2 separate regions of the Homo sapiens genome follow, and region 2 is linked to region 1. Evidence: promoter capture Hi-C in 16 types of primary human blood cells and fetal thymus (Javierre and others, 2016). All regions are on one chromosome and are shown on one strand. The core of a region is centred on a gene start or on the middle of the fragment in contact, and the rest is flanking DNA. Distances in the headings are between cores, read along the strand shown.

The links. The method cuts DNA at HindIII sites, captures the fragments that hold promoters and counts their contacts. A CHiCAGO score of 5 or more calls a contact.
Region 2: a contact is called between a fragment that was not itself captured here and the fragment with the promoter of PRELID3A in region 1, in 4 of 17 cell types (endothelial precursors, non-activated CD4 T cells, total B cells and 1 more). The highest score is 6.6, in endothelial precursors.

What each region holds. Positions count from the first base shown.
Region 1 is chr18:12,406,396-12,409,863 of GRCh38, forward strand. It overlaps PRELID3A (PRELI domain containing 3A), which reads left to right and starts at 1,534. Exons shown (of 7, transcript NM_001142405.2): 1 at 1,534-1,612. The coding sequence starts at 1,581. RefSeq lists enhancers at 933-1,594, 1,595-2,254, 2,112-2,361 and a silencer at 1,332-1,911. The HindIII fragment of the contact is 9,540 bases long and covers 1-3,444 here.
Region 2 is chr18:12,896,880-12,900,607 of GRCh38, forward strand. No RefSeq gene overlaps it. Among named protein-coding and RNA genes, the nearest start is that of PTPN2, 15 kb to the left of the region's middle. The HindIII fragment of the contact is 220 bases long and covers 2,285-2,504 here.

The DNA of each region.
Region 1 (3,468 bases), core at 284-2,783:
ATCATCCTGAGCTTAACGCTGTAGGAGGTAGAGGTCAATGTGAGTGGACGGTGGAGCCAGGACTGTAGCCCAGGTCTTTCGGGTCATGCTGTGTGCTCTTCCACTTCCCTGCCTCACTGCACAAATGCGCTCCCCACGCCCACGGACGCCCCAGGGGCGCCAGGCGCTGCTCTAGGCTGAGACTCAGCCGACTCAGACAAGGGCCCTGCCCTCTCGCCCTATCTCATCCTGGAGAAGAGTACCCTCTTCTTAGAACAAGCATCTCACTTCCGTGCACTTCAACTTCGTTTGTGGCAGTGCAGGGTACTTTGCAAAGCTAAAAAGTAGTTTATGCGAAAGGGAGACTCTTTTTCCTTAGAGGATTTGCCAAGTTGTAATCACAAATTCTTTTTGAGATACACGTACATTTTTTTAAAGCTAAATAAGATTTCCCCCCAGTTTTATAACTCAAGAATGTATTTTCTCAAGGACTTGGGAGTCATCTCTTTGAAATGTCATCCCCGTCTCCCAGTTTTGTGGGAGGGTAGGAGCCCAGCTACCAGAGAGCACCTGGCTTCAAATTGTAAACCTACCTCCTGTCATAAAGGTATGAAAATTCATTTTTCCTTTGGATAAAGGCAATTAGCAAACGCAAATGGCCACTGCATTTACCAATGGCCACTCCATCATCAGGCGAATTTAGGATGAACTCTGCGACAAATGGTGTAGTGGAGTCCCCTCCCCGGAGGGCTGTCTCGTTTACCTCGGGAGCATGCGTGGGGTAGGTTGCATCCTCCCGGCTGTTTGATACAGGCTGAGATTTCTGTCTTTGCAGCCTATTTGGCGGATTGCTTGTGATGCACATCACATGCTGGTTTTGTTTTGTTTTGTTTTGTTTTGTTTTGTTTTGTTTGAGACGGAGTCTCGCTCTGTTGCCCAGGCTGGAGTGCAGTGGCGGGATCTCGGCTCACTGCAAGCTCCGCCTCCCGGGTTCACGCCATTCTCCTGCCTCAGCCTCCCGAGCAGCTGGTACTACAGGCGCCCGCCACCACGCCCGGCTAATTTTTTGTATTTTTAGTAGAGACGGGGTTTCACCGTGTTAGCCAGGATGGTCTTGATCTCCTGACCTCGTGATCCGCCCGCCTCGGCCTCCCAAAGTGCTGGGATTACAGGCGTGAGCCACCGCGCCCGGCCTCACATGCTGGTTTAATGTTTGTTCAAGACCCAAACTGCAGTGGAGTTTTGAGGGTTGGCAGGTTTGTTTTTCATCACACGTCCCCGACAGTACAAACCGGCGTAGCTGGACAGGGCCTTGGGAGAATTTGGACAGTGGGAGTAAGGACGAGCGTCGCCTCCTACGCCCGCGGCATCTGCAGCAAGCGCGCATCGCGCACCCCAGGGTAGCAGCGCAGGTCTGGGGCTGCGCCACAGCCGCGCCCGCAGAGCTATTTTTAGCCGCTGCAGCCAGCCTAGCCACCAGACGGGGTGGGCGGCATCCAAGGGCGCCCCGCCCATCGAGGCCCCGCCCACGCCGCGCCCGGAGCCGCGCGGCCCGAAGCACCCGGCCCGGATCGCAGAGCCCGCGCCCTGCGCCGGCGGCAATGAAGATCTGGAGCTCGGAGCACGTGTTTGGGTGAGGCCGGGCTGAGGGCCGCGGTGGGGCCGTCCAGACGCCGGCTCCTGCTCCCGAGCCCGGCTGGAGCGGTCCAGGAAAGGCCGGACCTCACAGCGGGCCTCGCGGAGATCCCCGCCCCGCGCCGGCCGTTCCCAGACCGCAACTTCGGCGTCCCGGAGAGGGCACGCGCGCTTCCCCGGGACCGCGGTCTGGGCGAGGCTCTGCGCCGGGTACGGCCTCTCCCCCGGCGTGCGCAGGGGCCTGGCTGCAGGCACAGAGGCCCCGCTGGTGGTCGACAGCCAGGGCGGGGGCAGCCGGAGCGGGGGCGGCCGGGGCGGGGGCGGCCGGAGCCGGGGGGGCGGCCGGGGGCCTGGCGCTCGCTGCTCTCCTTGGGGTCGGGAGCAGGGCAGGGGAGAGGCCTGCAAGCTGGCGCCTTTGCTGAGATTGTCATAAACCTTCCGCGCGTTTCACGGAGGGCCCACGGCGGGCTGTGAGCTCTGGAGGAAGCTAAAGGGGCAGAAGGCATTTCGGGGGCCCTGGCTCTGAACTCACTTGTAGGCATGGAAGGCCTCCAAGCTAGCGTGGAAAACCTCGAACTGTTTAAAAATGCTCCCCCGGCACACGGATGGAAGTGGAGGTCATTATCTTAAGTGAAGCCAGGCCCAGAAAGACAAGTATCGCATGTTCCCACTCCTAAGTGGGTGCTTAAGAATGTGTTCACATGGATGTGGAGAGTGGAACGTCAGATGATGGAGACTCTGAAGGGTGAGGGGGTGGGTGCAGGGAGGATAATGAGAATTGCTTAATGGGTGCAAGACACCTTCCCGGGTAATGCATACCCTAGAAGTCCTGACTTGACCACTACGAAATTTATGCATGTAACGAAATTGCACATATACTCCATAGAATTGTGCAAATAAAAAGAAGAAAAAAGTGCCCTCCTAACCTAAGTGGTATCTTTTCCTTAAGTCAGTGATCTGTGACACACTGAAATTATTCTTTAATGTTTATTTACAGCAACAAAGATTTTTTAATTATCTGACCTCACTTAAGCATTAAATATTTTATTTTGGGGGGAAAAAAAGTACTGCGTGGAAGGAAATTGTCATCCTTTGACTCTTTTTATTTATTTTTTTCGAGACAGAGTCTCATTCTGTCACCCAGGCTGGGTTTTTTTTTTTTTTTTTTTTTTTTTGAGACATAGGCTCGCTGGGTCACCCAGGTTGGAGTGCAATGGCGCGATCTTGGCTCACTGTAACCTCCCCCTCCTGGGTTCAAGTGATTCTCGTGCCTCAGCCTCCTGAGTAGCTGGGACTACAGGTGTGGGCCATCACGCCCGGCTAATTTTTGTATTTTTAGTAGAAACAGGGTTTCGCCATGTTGGCCAGGCTGGTCTCGAGCTCCTGACCTCAGGTGATCCACCCGCCTCGGCCTCCCAAAGTGCTGGGATTATAGGTGTGAGCCACCGTGACTGGCCTGACTTTAAACATGTAAAATTATAATAAAAATATATCAAGTGGTTTCAAAACCTCTGAAATTATTTTTCATGAAGTCTTTAGACTTGATGGGATCTAATTTTTTGTATGGCTTGCAGTGTTTCTCAAGTGGGTTTCCATCAGCAACAAGGATGGGGGCATCACTGAGCCGTCTGGATGCTGTGGACAGTTAAGTCATTGCATACCAGGAGTGCCAGGTGGTTGGGGCTCAGTTTTCTCATGGAATGGCCGAGGTCTGCCCTAGAGGTTTGTGAAATGTCTGTGGACAAGCACAAATGAATAGCTAGCTGTGAAAAATCACAGTTGATGCTTTTGAAAATTGTTGCAGCTGCTAACTCCCATTTATTTTTTTTAAGCTTTACCGAAGGATACTTTACA
Region 2 (3,728 bases), core at 1,145-3,644, 490 kb after region 1:
CACGAGCGAGCACCGTCGGGAACAAACCGGGAGAAAGAGGAAGAGCCGGCGCCAAAGGTATCCCGCCCACCGCGGTCCCCCCAGAACTCTTCCTGCGCTTGCAAGCGCCACGCTGCCCACAGGACTGCGCCAGCCGGCCGGCGCCTCAACAGAGCGCGCCAGGGAGCAGCGCCCGTCGGGAGCCAAGACGCCTGAGCCATCGAGGCCGCCGCCGGGCCAGGTCGAGGCCGCCGCCGCCGCCGCCGCCGCCGCCGCCGCGGCACCACTCTTAACCGATGTTGATTTCCCCTTTCACACCCCAGGAAGGCAATTATTTGATTTTTTTTTGTTTTGCTTTTGTTTTGTTTTGTTTTGAAACAAGGTCTTGCTCTGTTGCCCAGGCTGGAGGGCAATGGTGTGATCATGGCTCACTGCAGCCTTGACCTCCCGGGCTCAAGTGATCCTCCCACCTCAGCCTCCTGAGTTGCTGGGACTAGGTGCATGCCAACATGTCCAGCTAATTAAAAAAAAGTTTTTTTGTAGAGATAAGGTCTCACTATATTGCCCAGGCTGGTCTTGAACTCCTGAACTCAAGGGATCTTCCTGCCTCAGCCTCCCAAAGTGCTGGGATTATAAATGTGAGCCACTGCACCGAGCCTCCAGGTGGCCGATTCTCGGATGCATTTCTCATGGCTCCTTAGAAAGTCCCAGTGGGGGCCGGGCGTGGTGACTCATGCCTGTAATCCCAGCACTTTGGGAGGTCAAGGCGGGTGGATCACCTAAGATCAGGACTTTGAGGCCAGCTTGACCAACATGGTGAAACCCCATCTCTACTAAAAATACAAAAATTAGCTGGGTGTGGTGTCAGGCACCTGTAATCCCAGCTACTTAGGAGGCTGAGGCAGAAGAATCTCTTGAACCCAGGAGGCGAAGGTTGCAGTGAGCCAAGATCGTGCCATTGCACTCCAGCCTGGGTGACAGAGTGAGTCTCTGTCTTAAAAAGAAAAAGAGAGAGAGAGACAGACAGACAGAGAGAGAGAGAGAGAGACAGAGAGAGAGAGAGAGAGAGAGAGAAAGAAAGAGAGAAAGAAAGAAAGAAAAGAAAGAAAGAAAGAAAGAAAGGAAGAAAGAAAAAGTAAGTCAGTCTCAGTGTGAACAAGCGTCATTTGTGTCTGGTGATGGACGTGACAAGGCTTTCTTATGTTTGCTTTTCCTCCTCACCTGTTCATCCTCCTTCCCTGCACTGCTGCTCTCTAGAAGCGCTTTCCCAAATAAAGTCCTTGCAACAAGCCTTGGTCTCAGGGTCTGCTTTCAGGGAACTCAGGCTAAGGTAATTAGTCACAGACATGGGCCTAGGAAGCAGATTCTCAGGATGGGATTTTGGAGCTGGAAAACACAGAGCTAAGAAACACGAGGCTGGAGTGAGTGGCATCTGGTAACATCACGATTGCTAAGGATCTCACCCTGGTGGCTTGGGATGAGGTGCAGGTGGAAGGTAAAGCACTGGGCATGTGGCAGCTCTGACACCTAAGTGGTATTGGGGCGAGGGGAACTATAACGATTTTGGAGGTTCCTGGTCTTTGTTAAATGCTCTGGACGTCTTGAAAAAAAAGTCAAACAGGTTTCCACCTGCAACTGTCAGCTTGAGGCAGGTTGTGGAAGCAAAGCGGCTCCATAACTGCATTCATGGAGACGCTCATTTTATTCGTAGAATGTGTGGATGAAAATCAGGCACAGCACTGTGTTATTAGGAAAACAGAGATGCAAAGGAGCATGAATGCATAGCCATAAATGGTCTCGTCCTCAAATCATTGACTTGAGAAATACCTGGGTGGACTTGGACCAGCCTGAGAACCTTGCAACCCCAGGTTTTTTTGGCTCCCCCAGGCCAGCAGATGTGCGCCCCCATTCTTACTAGATTCACAGAAGCCCTCACATGAGAAAGTGTCTCAAAGGGCAAGGAAACTCAGTTTTAGCCACTAACTCCCCAAAAGCAACCCCTGCCACCACTTGTTACCTCCATACTAAGAAGCAGGGTCTGATCCCAACACAGCTTAGGTAAACAGTCCAAACTCCAGGCAGAAATCTTATATATCCTAAGAATTGTAAGACCTGTCTAATGTGGACCAACAGGAAGGAGAGGAAAATGGGCAATTATAAAGCTTAAGATGTTGGGCCAAGGAAGATGCAAATATAAGGATGGGTAGAGAAGGATTTATTGATATAGGAATATACCCCTTGGTTTGGGAGTCCTAGTCAGGGCATCTGAATCCACTTCTCATCCACTGCTCGGATAGTTTCCTGAAGCTTGGGCAGGAAGATGACCTACAATGAATGAGGTGAGGATGCTTTAATTTCCTTGGCAGAATACTAGACGAGCTCAGGGAAATTAGACATTAGAATAGGCTTAGTATGTGGTATCAGAGAACCCACTTCCCGGCTGTGTTCTTTGGGAAGACTCAGAGGAGACTCCCTTCATAAAGCACAAAGACCCACTGGTGAGGGAGGCATGACCATCTTTGAGAAGCTTGGTAGGAATTGTCCTTTGTAGGCCAGAGCCGGCCAGTGGAAGATCCTGCCAATGGATGCCAGGTATCAATGGGCATGACGGGATTCTGAAATCGCAGAGAGGAGGCAGCAGCAGAAGGGGAATGAAGTTAGTATCATGGGCAGCAAGGCCAGCATGGCAGTTACGCTGCTGTGACCTGCTAGGATCTGTGGGCTCTGTTCCAGGGGCTGAGACGGGTGAACAACAATTAGGTTGTGACTTGACTTGGACAATTTGAAAAAAAAAAAAAAGAAGTGCTGGGAAGCTGAAGTTTGAAATTAGCCACTGCAATGGAAAATCACAATCCTTCATTCAATTTCCAAAGCTAAGTCAGTTCACAGATCTAATGCACATTGATTGAAGGGAAGCCTGCCAGTTCTCTGTAATGAAAGACTCTGCACCACCACTAAAAATACAGATGATAACTATTACCCTAGTCCTTCACCAATGGAACCTACAGCCACCTAGCAGCCCAATGGTGCCAAGGAAATGGATAGAAAATCTGAGTTGAAACTTCAGATACCACGGGACCTGAAATCCTGTTATGTTCCTCCAGTTACACTCAGAGCTTTTGAAGGGCAGATGATACATGGAGTTCTGACCCAAGTATACCCTGCAGTGGGTCCACTGGGTCCAGGAACATGGCCTGTGGTTATTTTCTCAGCTCCCACATGTATAATTAGGATAGATATATACCTAGTAGTTGGCAGAAACCTTACAATGATTTCTAGACATCTAGACATAGGGGGGAAGACACAGGAGAGAAGTCCCTGAAAAATCAGAAGCAATACTAGAAGGAATTGCAGAGAGTAGCACCACCATAAGCAACTTCAAGGATGGAGGGTGGCAGTCCCCTTCAATTTACCCAAGTGGCCCTTACAAAAATTACACAGATCATGGCAGATAAGGGTGGACTACTGTAAACCTAACTAAATGGAGCCCTGCTGGGCGCGGTGGCTCACACCTGTAATCCCAGCACTTTGGGAGGTTGAGGCGGGCGGATCACCTGAGGTCAGGAGTTCGAGACCAGCCTGGCCATCATGGTGAAACCCCGTCTCTACTAAAAATACAAAAATTAGCCAGCTGTGGTGGTGCACGCCTGTAGTCCCAGCTACTCAGAAGGCTGAGGCAGGAGAATTGCTTGAACCTGGGAGACAGAGGTTGCAGTGAGCAGAGATCGTGCCACTGCACTCCAGCCTGG